3 separate regions of the Homo sapiens genome follow, and regions 1 and 2 are each linked to region 3. The links are contacts of gene promoters, found by promoter capture Hi-C in human tissues and cell types (Jung and others, 2019). All regions are on one chromosome and are shown on one strand. The core of a region is centred on a gene start or on the middle of the fragment in contact, and the rest is flanking DNA. Distances in the headings are between cores, read along the strand shown.

Region 1 (3,491 bases), core at 615-3,114, 230 kb after region 3:
TCAACTTAGTTAAAATCCCCAAATATATGCTAAAATAACTCCAACTATTTTATTAAAAGTCCATCAGTGAAAACTTAAAAGACTAGAAAGACACATCATTTGATGTGTTATAGTATGCCCTACTCTGGGAGATTGAGCAAGGAAAAGAAGAAAGAGCCCTCTACATTTATGGGACTCTAGAATTATCTTAATGCACTCCACGGTTGGGCCATTTGAAGAAACAGCTAATTATCTTTCATGTGCCCACTGTGCACATTCCCCAGATACCTGGCAAGATTGCAAAGCACCAGAGCCAAGAGTGAGTCACTGGAATTTAAAGGAGATGAGAACATTTGCAGAAAGATTCACAGTGACTCTTAGTGATGAGTAAACTCAGATAGCTCAGTAATGTAGTTCAGTTTAGAATAGTCTTGCCAAATTCAGTTGATGTCTGAAGCTTTTCACATGTCACTAGCGAGCTTTGTGTTTCTGTTTTATATTGCAAAGAAAACAATGCAAAAATTAAAATAAGTGCTGGAGTAAATGGCCGCGAAACTTGCAATGTCATGAAGATAATATATTGTTCTGTAAGGTCCCAGTTTATTTGATAAAAAATAATCAATCAACCAATAAGCACTGATGAGGCAAATCTTTGTTCTGTGTGATGCTGGAAATCAAGAAGTGTGAGACAGAAATCTAACATTTAAAGAGGGGTCAACTGATTCCACTATTGTTATTGTAGTTGAGAAGGGTTTCTGGAAGGATCCCACATTGTCACACATGGCATTGCATCTTTCCAGTTGTATCCATGTTCAGTCTTCTTCTGAGCCTAATGAACTGCTAAAGGTGATGCTTCCTTTCTCAGCCAGATTTCCCATTCTGGTTCATCTTGAACATGTGTGTGTCTGAAAGAGAGTGTGTATGTACGGTGTGTATATGCCTTATGTATGTGTATGTGGGTGTAAGAGTGTGTGTGTTTGCGAGAATGTGTGTGTATTTTATGTGGTGTGGTCAGTGTGGGTATGAGTGTTAGAAACTGTGTATGAGAATGTTCATGTTAGTGTGTATGTGTGAATGTTTATAGTATGTGGATGTAAGTCTGAATGTGGATGGGTGGGTGTGAGTGTGTTTTTGAGTGTGTGTGCACATACATAATACAAACTCCCCCTTGGCCTGCAGAGACCAAGTGCCAACCTCACTTGTCTTTCATTTTAAATGCTTAAAGCATTAAGTTCATATTTTGACATATCTATCTTCATTCCTTCTTTATGGGAGGATCTTTCTGGATCATCTTTAAAACATGGTCATTTTGGAAACAGGGAGATTGTTTTCATCTCACCTCACACATCATTGTACAAATACTTGTATACATTGGTTCCATTATAAAGAAGTAGGTTGAGGGAGCAACCATCTAAGCTCTTTACTAATTATATTCTAAATCAGTGTGCTCATTGTCTGGTTTCCAAAGCAACGGCTTTAACATCCCCTGGAAACTTGATAGAAATTCAAATTATTTGGCCCACACCAGACCCACTGGAACAGAAACTCTGTAAGAATGCATGAAAATGTGTTTCTTCAGTGATCACTTGAAAGATACATGGAGTCTCCAGGTTTCGCTGATTATGAATTAGCCTGCTGTTCACGTTTTAGGCAGGTCTTCCTATGAATGTCTCTTTTCAACTTTCTTACTTAAATATATGGGAATAGGATTGCCAGATCAGATAGTAAGTGCAGGATTGCTACATCAGATGGTAAGTGCATGTTGAACTTCATAAGATACCTCTGAATGCCCACCAGCAACCTGTAAGAGCTTCAGCTCTTCATCCTTGCCAACCCTTAGTCTGCATTTTTTCATTTGTTTCACTTTTGTTTTTAATTTCCAGAATTCTAGTAGGTGTGCAATTGTTCCACATCTTGGGTTTAATTAGCATTTTCCTAATGATTAATAAACAAAAATTGTGACTACTAATGGTTCAAACCTACCTAAACGCTTGCAATGAGAGATATGAATATGTGCAAAAATGGACATGTGCTAGGAAGGTTAGCTAATTAAGCTTCCATATAATTATTTATCCATTTAAAATGGAACATTTTGAGTATCTGAAACACATTAGTTACTATGTGATCATTAAGATACACAGCAATGACAACAACAAAATGACATGAAATCCACCTTAGAGAATTCTTAATTTAGTGGAGGGTGAAAATGTAAGTTTAATGCCTTACAACATGTTGTATAAATGTTCTACTAGATAGATCTACAGAGAAAGAATTAGAGGACCACAAGGAACCAATAACATATCTCATGATAAAGATTCAGTTAAGGTTTCATAATGCATAATTATGTATATTTATAATTTAATAATATTGAAAATAAAAGAAAATAAAAGCTGGGCATATATATGTGTGTTTCATTATTTGTCATCCTTTACAATGGCATATAACTATTACACACACACTCACACATAGATACAAATTATTTATATTGACACCTATTATTGCAAAATCAGCTCACACTCTATTTTTCTATAACTTACTTTTTATCTTTAAATGTTATGACATTTCTTTCTGGGTCACTATAATTGTGTATGTTTGTAGGTTTACCTAATTGTTTCTTATGGCTTCATGATATTTTATAGTATAGCTGTAATATTGTTATCTAAACATTTTTAAAGTTATTTAGCCAGAAAACATACATTTCTTAAACACTTCCCACGACAGGCATTTTACAAGATCTGGGAACACAAGAATGAATTCCTCTGTGTGTTTTCTACAGAAACCCAGACTACAGTTAAGATGAAGGATATAATATGATTTATAATACAAGGACATAAAGTTTATAACAGAGGAGCTATAAACAAAGAAAAGTGAGGAAGAGAGTAGGAGCTTGAAGAAGAATTCACAAGGAATTTCATAGCAAACATAAAAATTTTGCTTTTTACTTTTTAACACAAACCTGCAATTAAAAAGATTATATATATATATATATATATTTGGGTTGAATGAATCAAGCAGTTGGTTAAGTGAGAGAATTTATTTATTTTTTAAGAAAAGGTAACCAGAAGTAAAATGAATGTTGATAACATTGTAGTTAGGTTTATTCAGGAAGAGATAAGGTTTTGTTAAAGAAGCTGATGGTAAATGAAGTAAAATTTTCTAATGGCTTGCATTTTTACTTTATACAAGTGTTACAAGCATATGAATACAGGTTGATGGATGTATTTCATCATGTTAAAACCTCTCACTGAAATTTTGCAAAAGCAAGACAAATTAAAAATAAAGTCCATGACCAGTGTGGTGGCTTACACCTGTAATCCCAACACTTTGGGAGGCCAAGGCGGGTGGATCACCTGAGGTCAGGAGTTTGAAACCAGCCTGGCCAACATAGTGAAACCCCATCTTTACTAAAAATACAAAAAAATTAGCTGGGTCTGGTGGCGGGCACCTGTAGACCCAGCTACTCGGGAGGCTGAGACATGAGAATCGCCTGAACCCAGGAGATGGATGTTGCA
Region 2 (3,656 bases), core at 317-2,816, 250 kb before region 3:
GCATCATAGGTTTTGTGCTGGCGGATTGTGCCTCACTAGCGGAGGTCTCCAGTGGGGCAGCCCCCATGGCCATGCAGCATCCTGCACACTCCTTTCCCACACCGTAGCATCCCAGGGCCCAAAGCAACTCCCTGACATCACTTTGCCAGTGCATGTGTGCATGGATTAGTCTTGCTTTTCTTGCCCCACCAACATGAGTGTGTGCATGCACCCTGCCCTGCCACTGCTGTGGTGGGGGTGCAGTCCACTCTCCTCTCCCTGCCAACCACGATTACAGTTGAAGCCTTGGCAGGCACAGAGCCAGCCAGCCCCACCCCCATCAGTGCCCTGCCCTTGTGCCAACACTGCCATGGAACTTAAACTAGGCACAGAAACAACAGATCCTCCTCAGCCCTGAAAAACTACCCCTTCCTGCAGCACACACAGAATGGGCACAGACCTGTGCCCACCAGCACCTTGCCCCTGTGCCAATACAACCACCAGTGAAGCCACATGCACAGTCACCAGGAGGGGCCCCCCACCCTCCCAGCCACATTGCCTTCACCACTGTGGTTAACACCCACAATGAGGCAAGCACCCCAGCACGCACTAGTACTCTGCTGCAGCCAACGAGCGTGCACCCCACAGTGCTGTCACTGACGCTGCTACTGGCATGTGCAAATGAGTACAGATCCCACTGTCATGCCACTATGAAATGCTTTGGCTGACACAACACATCAGAGTGAAGTGACCAGCAGTCCAGGGGTACCTTGCCCTCTGACCCAGTGCAGTAGATTCCTAACATCAGGGAGCAAAAGAACAAAGTTAGGGCCTGATACAAATCCCCCAGAGTTACAGCATGCAGTCCAGGAACTGGGAACTGAGCCCTCTAAAATTTTCCAGAAATGAAGCCAGTTGTCTGAATCCACCTTATACGACAATCAAACCCTCAAAATCATCAAACAAAATAAAAGAAAAAAACATCCAAAGGCCAGCAGCCTCAAAGATTGAAGGAACATAAGCCCACAAAGACAATAAAGAACCAGTGCAAGAACCCTGACAACACAAAAAGCCAGAGTGCCTTCTTTTCTTCAAATGACTGCACCACTACTCCAGCAAGGGTTTTGAACCAGGCTGAGATGGCTGAAATGATGGAAATAGAATTCAGATAATGGATATAAAAATATCATTGAGATGCAGGAATACATTGAAACCCAATCCAAGGAAGCTAAGAATCACAATAAAACAATGCAGGAGCTGACAGACAAAATAGCCAGTAGAGAAAAGAACATAACAAACCTGACAGACTGAAAAATACACTATCAGAATTTCATAATACAATCACAAGTATTAACAGCAGAATGGACCAGGTCAGGAAAGCATCTCAGAGCTTAAAGACTGACTTTCTGAATTAAACAGTCAGACAAGAATAAAGGAAAAGGAATGAAAAGAAACAAAACCTCCCAGGAGTATGGAATAATTCAGAAACCAAATCTATGACTCACTGATGTCACTGAAAGACATGTGGAGGGTGTAAGCAATTTGGAAAGCATATTTTAGGATATCATCCATAAGAACTTGCCCAACCTAGCTGGAGAGACCAACATGCAAATCAAGAAATGCATAGTACTCCAGTAAGATACTCCACAACAAGTTCATCCTGAAGGCACATAATCATCAGGTTTTCCAAGGTCAAAATGAAAGAAAAAGTGTTAAAGGCAGCTAGAGAGAAAAGCCAGGTCATCTGCAAAGAAAAGTTCATCAGACTAACAGCAGATGTCTCAGCAGTAACCCTATAAGTCAGAATAAATTGGGGGCCAAAATTCAACATTCTTAAATAAAAGAAATTCCAACACAGAATTTTATATCTGGCCAAACTAAGCTTCATAAACAAAGGAGAAAAATGTTTTTCAGACAAGCAAATGCTGAAAGAATTTTTTACCAACAGACCTGCCTTAGAAGAGCTACTGAAAGAAGCACTAAATCTAGAAAAGAAAGAACATTACCAGCCACTACAAAAACACAGTGAAGTACACAGACCAGTGACACTATAAAGCAACCACATAAACAAGTCTGCATAATAACCAGCTAACATCAGGATAACAGGATCAAATACACACAAACCAGTATTAACCCTGAATGTAAATGGGCTAAATGCCCAAATTAAAAGGCACAGAGTGGCAAGCTGGATAGAGTTAAAACCCATTGGTGTGCTGTCTTCAAGAGACCCATCTCGTGCAATGACACCTATAAGCTCAAAATAAAGAGATGGAGAAAAATCTATCAAGCAAATGAGAAACAGAGAAAAGCAGGAGTTGCAATCCTAATTTCAGACAAAATAGACATTATACCAACAAAGATCAAAAAAGACAAAGAAAGACATTACATAATGGTAAAGGGTTCAATTCAACAAGACCTAACTATCCTAAATATACATGCACCCAACACAGAAGTGCCAAGATTCATAAGGCAAATGCTTAGACACCTTCAAAGACACAGACTCCCACATAGTGGGAGATTTAAACACCCCAACAACAGCTTAGAAATATTATTAAGGTAGAAAATTAACAAAAATTTTCAGGACCTAAACTCAGCACTGGGTCAGATGGACCTGACAGATATCTACAGAACTCTCCACCCAAAAAGAACAGAATATACATTCTTCTCATTGCCACAAGGCACATACTCTAAAATCAATCAAATCATCAGACACAAAACACTCCTTGGTGAATGGAAAATAACTGAAATCATAGTAATCAGACCACAGCACAATCAAATTATAAATCAAGACTGAGAATTCACTCAAATCTACACACAATTACATGGAAATTGAATAACTTGCTCCTGACTGACTTTTGGATAAATAATGCAATTAAGGCAGAAATCAAGAAGTTCTTTGAAGCTAATAAGCACAAAGATACGATATACAAGAATTTCTGGGATACAGCTAAGGTAGTGTTAAGAGGGAAATTTATCAGGGCCAAGATGGCCAATTAAAAGTAGCTGTAATACAGTCTCAGTATACAAAATTAAGGTGCAGAAAATCACAAGCATTCCTATACGGCAACAACAGACAAGCAGAGAACCAAGTCATAAATGAACTCCCATTCATAACTGCTAAAAAGAGAATAAAGCACCTAGGAATACAGCTAACAAGGGAAGTGAAGGATCTCTTCAAGGAGAACTACAAACCACCACTCAAGGAAATAAAAAAGAACACAAACAAATGGAAACACATTGCATGTTCATGGATAGGAAGGATCAATATAGTGAAAATGGCCATACTGCCCAAAGTAATTTATAGATTCAATGCTATTCCCATTCAAAGATCACTGGCATTCTTCACAGAATTTGAAAAAAAAAATGCTTTCAAATTCATATGCAACCAAAAAAGAGCCTGAAGAGCCAAGACAATCTGAAGTAAAAAGAACAAAGCTGGAGGCATCATGTTACCCAACTTCAAACTATACTAGAAGACTGCAATAATCAAAAAAGCATGGTAGTGTTACAAAAGCAGACACATAGACCAATGGAACAGAATAGGTATCTCAGAAACAAGACTGCACATCTACAACCATCTGATCTTTGACAAACCTGACAAAAACAAGCAATGAGGAAGGAATCCTCTATTTAATAAATGGTGCTGGGAGAACTGGCCAGCCACATGCAGAAAATTG
Region 3 (3,722 bases), core at 922-3,421:
ATTCATGTTTCCGTATGTCCTGATAAAATAATTTAAACAATCAATTAAATCAACCTTAGTAAGCATAGAATTAAATACAGCAGAGAAAAGCTTCTTTGCTGACAAGGACGGATAGCCCCTGATTAGCATAACCCTCACACGGGGGGTTTGTTTTAATCATCTAACAAAAAGGGGGCATTTTCTGAAACACACACGACAGGTATTGTTTCTGCAGAAAAAAGAAGCACGTGTTTCACCACATTTGTCTAAGGAAAAGGGAAACTTCATTTACCATAACCTTAAGCAACGTTTTCACATGGACTGAAAAGCAAAAGACCCCCTTAAAAATTAGCCTCAAGCAGCAGATACTCTCTTTTTAGGTTTGTGTGTCTCCGTGAGGTCAGATGGATTCCCCAAACACGGTTTTAGAGAGAATCACAACCTTTAATAGATCCTCTGTTAAAAAAGACTGTTAGAGAAAGTTGACCAAGGGCTTCGTTCCACGGCGACCGTTTCCTGCGTGTGCAGCTCCACACAGCGACCGCGGCCTGCAATGTGCGGAGCACAGCGCGGCCCCTTCCAGCCGGAGCTCGCGAGCCGCGGTGGCGGCTGGTGGCCACCCCAGGGAAATAAAGCCGTTGCTGCTGCAGCAAAATGGCTCAAAGTCCAACCAAAGTCTGGCCTTTTCCTGTGAGTAAATACGCGGCCTGTTTGGTTTTCCGTCCCGAGTGATTCCCGGCTCAGTAACGTTTCTCCTCCAGGGAGCCCACTGGAACTCCACTGGCTGTGCCGCCTCCTCGCCCGTCCCCCGCGCGCGCCGCAGGCCGGTGCTTGGAGAGCGCAATGTCCCCGGGAGGGAAGATCCCCTACCTGGAATGGATGGTTCCAGACCAGCGGGAACGCGCTCTAATCCTTGATGGAAGCAAGCGTGGGAGGAAAGCACAACGTCTAGGACTTCCCTGTAGTGTCAGAACAGGAAGAAGAACCTGAGAAGTCGCCGGGGAAGGGAGGCCAGGAGCAGGCGTCCGGCCCCTTCCCACAGCCCGGGAGAAATTAGTGTTGCGCCCCGCCCCTCCCGGACCCCCGTCCCCACCACACACACCAGCGCCCCTCACCAGTCTTTCTCGAATTTCCTCTCATGTCTATCAATAACCTCCTTGTGCAGAAATCTACACTGCACAAGTTAGGAGTCTGCAAGGGCGGGCGGTGTTACAGTCTCGCTCTTTCCATTTTCCCCTTTTACTCCACATAGTTTCAAAGGTCCACATGGCCCTGGTTTTGACCAGTTTTCCAACAGTTTCAACGTTATGTATTTCAACTTCCCGTCTCAGTTCACTGGCGTCTGCACCCGTTGCCGAGTGTGGGTGGCTGAGCCCTGGGTGACAGCACTCGGGACCACGCACCCATACCCTTCTTTATGCTCGTTGTCAGCCAGTTGCCAAGAGCGGGAGTGAAGAGCCTGCAAGGCCCGGGAGAGCGCGGATTCCGGAGTAGGGAGGCGAGGGGGCAGCGTGGGAGACCAGAGGGAAAATGGGCTGAAAAGCCAACAAAAAAAACAACGTAAATTGGGCTTTGCTCTGGCTTTACAAAGGCAGAGATTGTCGAGCCCTCTGACTGTCTTTGTGCCTTCTTTATCCCGTCCTTTGTGAAATAAGCCGTTTTCTGCCCCCACTGCAGGAGCCTAGGCTGTGGGCGACTCGCTAGCACTGCCCTGGGCCTCCAAGCTGCCTGCTCGCTGAGCTCAGCGCTGACACTCACAGGAGCTGCGTTCGCCGGATCCTCTGAGAGGCTCTGCAACGATCCCGATCCAATTCAGCAGCGTTTTAAAAGGTAGCCGAGTGCAGATGCTTTTTCCTGTCTTTTTCATTCTTTCATTCTCTGTCTTTTAAAATTTTAACAATAACCTATCGTTTCCGCGTGGAGGGTCTAAGAATCTTCACTGGGTTTAATTTAGGAATTTCAAATTGGGTTTCTCAAAATTTGAATGTGGTCCCCTTAATTGGTAATCAAGATTGCGGAGTTTTCCAAAATATTCCTTTTCATCTTATGTAATTAAAGATCCACGAGCTTTCCAAAGAAGCTCTGGATTTTCCACGGTACAAATCTATATATTTTTTCTCTCTCTTCCTCTCTCTCTCTCTCTGCCTCTCTCGTGCGTGTATGTGCGCGCCCCTGTGCGTGCGTTTTCTTTCATTTCTGGCATTAGGAAACTCGTGCAGGGCCACTGAAAAGTCAGGGGAGGCTCAGATGTTATTTCCCAGGGATTCCTGTTTTTCCAGAAACGTTGTCACCAAATAAGTATGAGACTGTTAATTTGGAGAAACAATTAGCCCCTACAAAAAAAAAAAAGAAAGAAAAAAGAAAAAAAAAAGAACCGGAGGGGAGAAGGCTAGGGCGGAAGACAAGGAAGCTGCTGCTTGGATTCGCTGGTGGAGGAAAGTGCGACCTGGACCTGCGCTTAGGGGCTCCCGTCCCCTTACTTCAGCACCAGAGGGGATGGACAGCGTCTCCGGACTGAGCTGCAGCCACAGGGACGGAACTACGCTGCCGCCGCCGCTGTCCTTGCCGCCACTGTCGTCGCCACGGGCAGCTGGGCTACTTGCTCCTCGCAGCTAAAAGGCGGTGCCTCCTATTACCCCCTCGCCTCCCGGCCCCCTTCCTTAATGGATGAAAAGTACCCCTCCCTCTACACCTGCTGTACCTAAGGACAGGACTCTGAGGAGTACTCTTGCTCCACAGATTAAACTCTCAGCAGCAACTTCAAGAATCATTTTTCTATAGGGGTCTGGGAGGAATTCTGGAGGAGAGTAAAGTCGAAGTTCTTAGAAGCTCTGAGAAATCATGGGCCGTGCGGTAGGGGTTGAAATGCTCAAAGGTCCACACTTCTTGAAATAAACAGAATGGTCTTGAGTGGATTGCAACTGTTTTGGAAATAGCTTTGTGAAAAGAGGGTGGAGAGCTACTCAAAATTCTACGTTAGAGAGACTGAAAAGACATCTAATTTCATTGCTCGGCAGGTAAGTGATAGCGCTATTATTTTTGTTTTTTAAAATTCTAATGACTTGTCTTATGGTTTAACAGAAAGATCATAAGCAGTGTAATTTTTTCTGGGGTTAACGAGGAGACAAGCAATTTTGTTTTAAAATAATTGTTTCTGGATCATTGTGTGACAAGAAGAATCAAAATAACATACATGTTGCCTTACATAATTACAGTAAACTTTTAGCTGGCCATTTTTCTTATTGCTTATCTAATATCTTTTTGGATCTGGCATATCTTGTTTATTTTTTCCCAAAACTAATGCAATCGTTTGGCAAGATAATTTTGTTGTCTTATGTATGCCATAAAAAGTGATCCTGTCTGTGTTACATAGTATGCAAGACTAAAAAAGTTAAAATAGAGAGGGTTTAACCATGCCCTCTAACATATTTTATATTGTTATAATATACTAAACTATGCATGGGAACAAATACATGTATACATATACACCAGATTTCTCACTCCATGCCAACCTCCAAGTATACCTACACCTGTAGGATCTTACGTAAGGAGACACTCATATTTTTACTTAGCACCCTCTTTCCAGCCTTTGAAAGCTCAAGATTGCTTTCTCAAACCTGATCTGCCAGAAAGCAGAAAATGAGAAGCTTTAGTGTGCCTCTTTAGGAGAGCTGGATTTCAAAATCATTCTAACTTATTAGTTCTGCAAAATACATTTGTCAGTGAAATCCAGAAAGTGATAG

Evidence for each region. Contacts are between HindIII fragments. The study calls those that stand out against the background at their distance.
Region 1: a contact is called between a fragment that was not itself captured here and the fragment with the promoter of SNTG1 in region 3, in 2 of the 25 tissues and cell types used here (dorsolateral prefrontal cortex and hippocampus).
Region 2: a fragment that was not itself captured here is called in contact with the fragment with the promoter of SNTG1 in region 3 in 2 of the 25 tissues and cell types used here (IMR-90 fibroblasts and spleen).

Annotation. Positions count from the first base shown.
Region 1 is chr8:50,139,525-50,143,015 of GRCh38, forward strand. All of the region lies in intron 1 of SNTG1 (syntrophin gamma 1), which reads left to right. Among named protein-coding and RNA genes, the nearest start is that of SNTG1, 230 kb to the left of the region's middle. The HindIII fragment of the contact is 3,401 bases long and covers 165-3,491 here.
Region 2 is chr8:49,658,706-49,662,361 of GRCh38, forward strand. No RefSeq gene overlaps it. Among named protein-coding and RNA genes, the nearest start is that of SNTG1, 250 kb to the right of the region's middle. The HindIII fragment of the contact is 3,269 bases long and covers 1-3,201 here.
Region 3 is chr8:49,909,236-49,912,957 of GRCh38, forward strand. It overlaps SNTG1 (syntrophin gamma 1), which reads left to right and starts at 2,172. Exons shown (of 19, transcript NM_018967.5): 1 at 2,172-2,996. RefSeq lists an enhancer at 1,077-2,021. The HindIII fragment of the contact is 7,737 bases long and covers 1-3,722 here.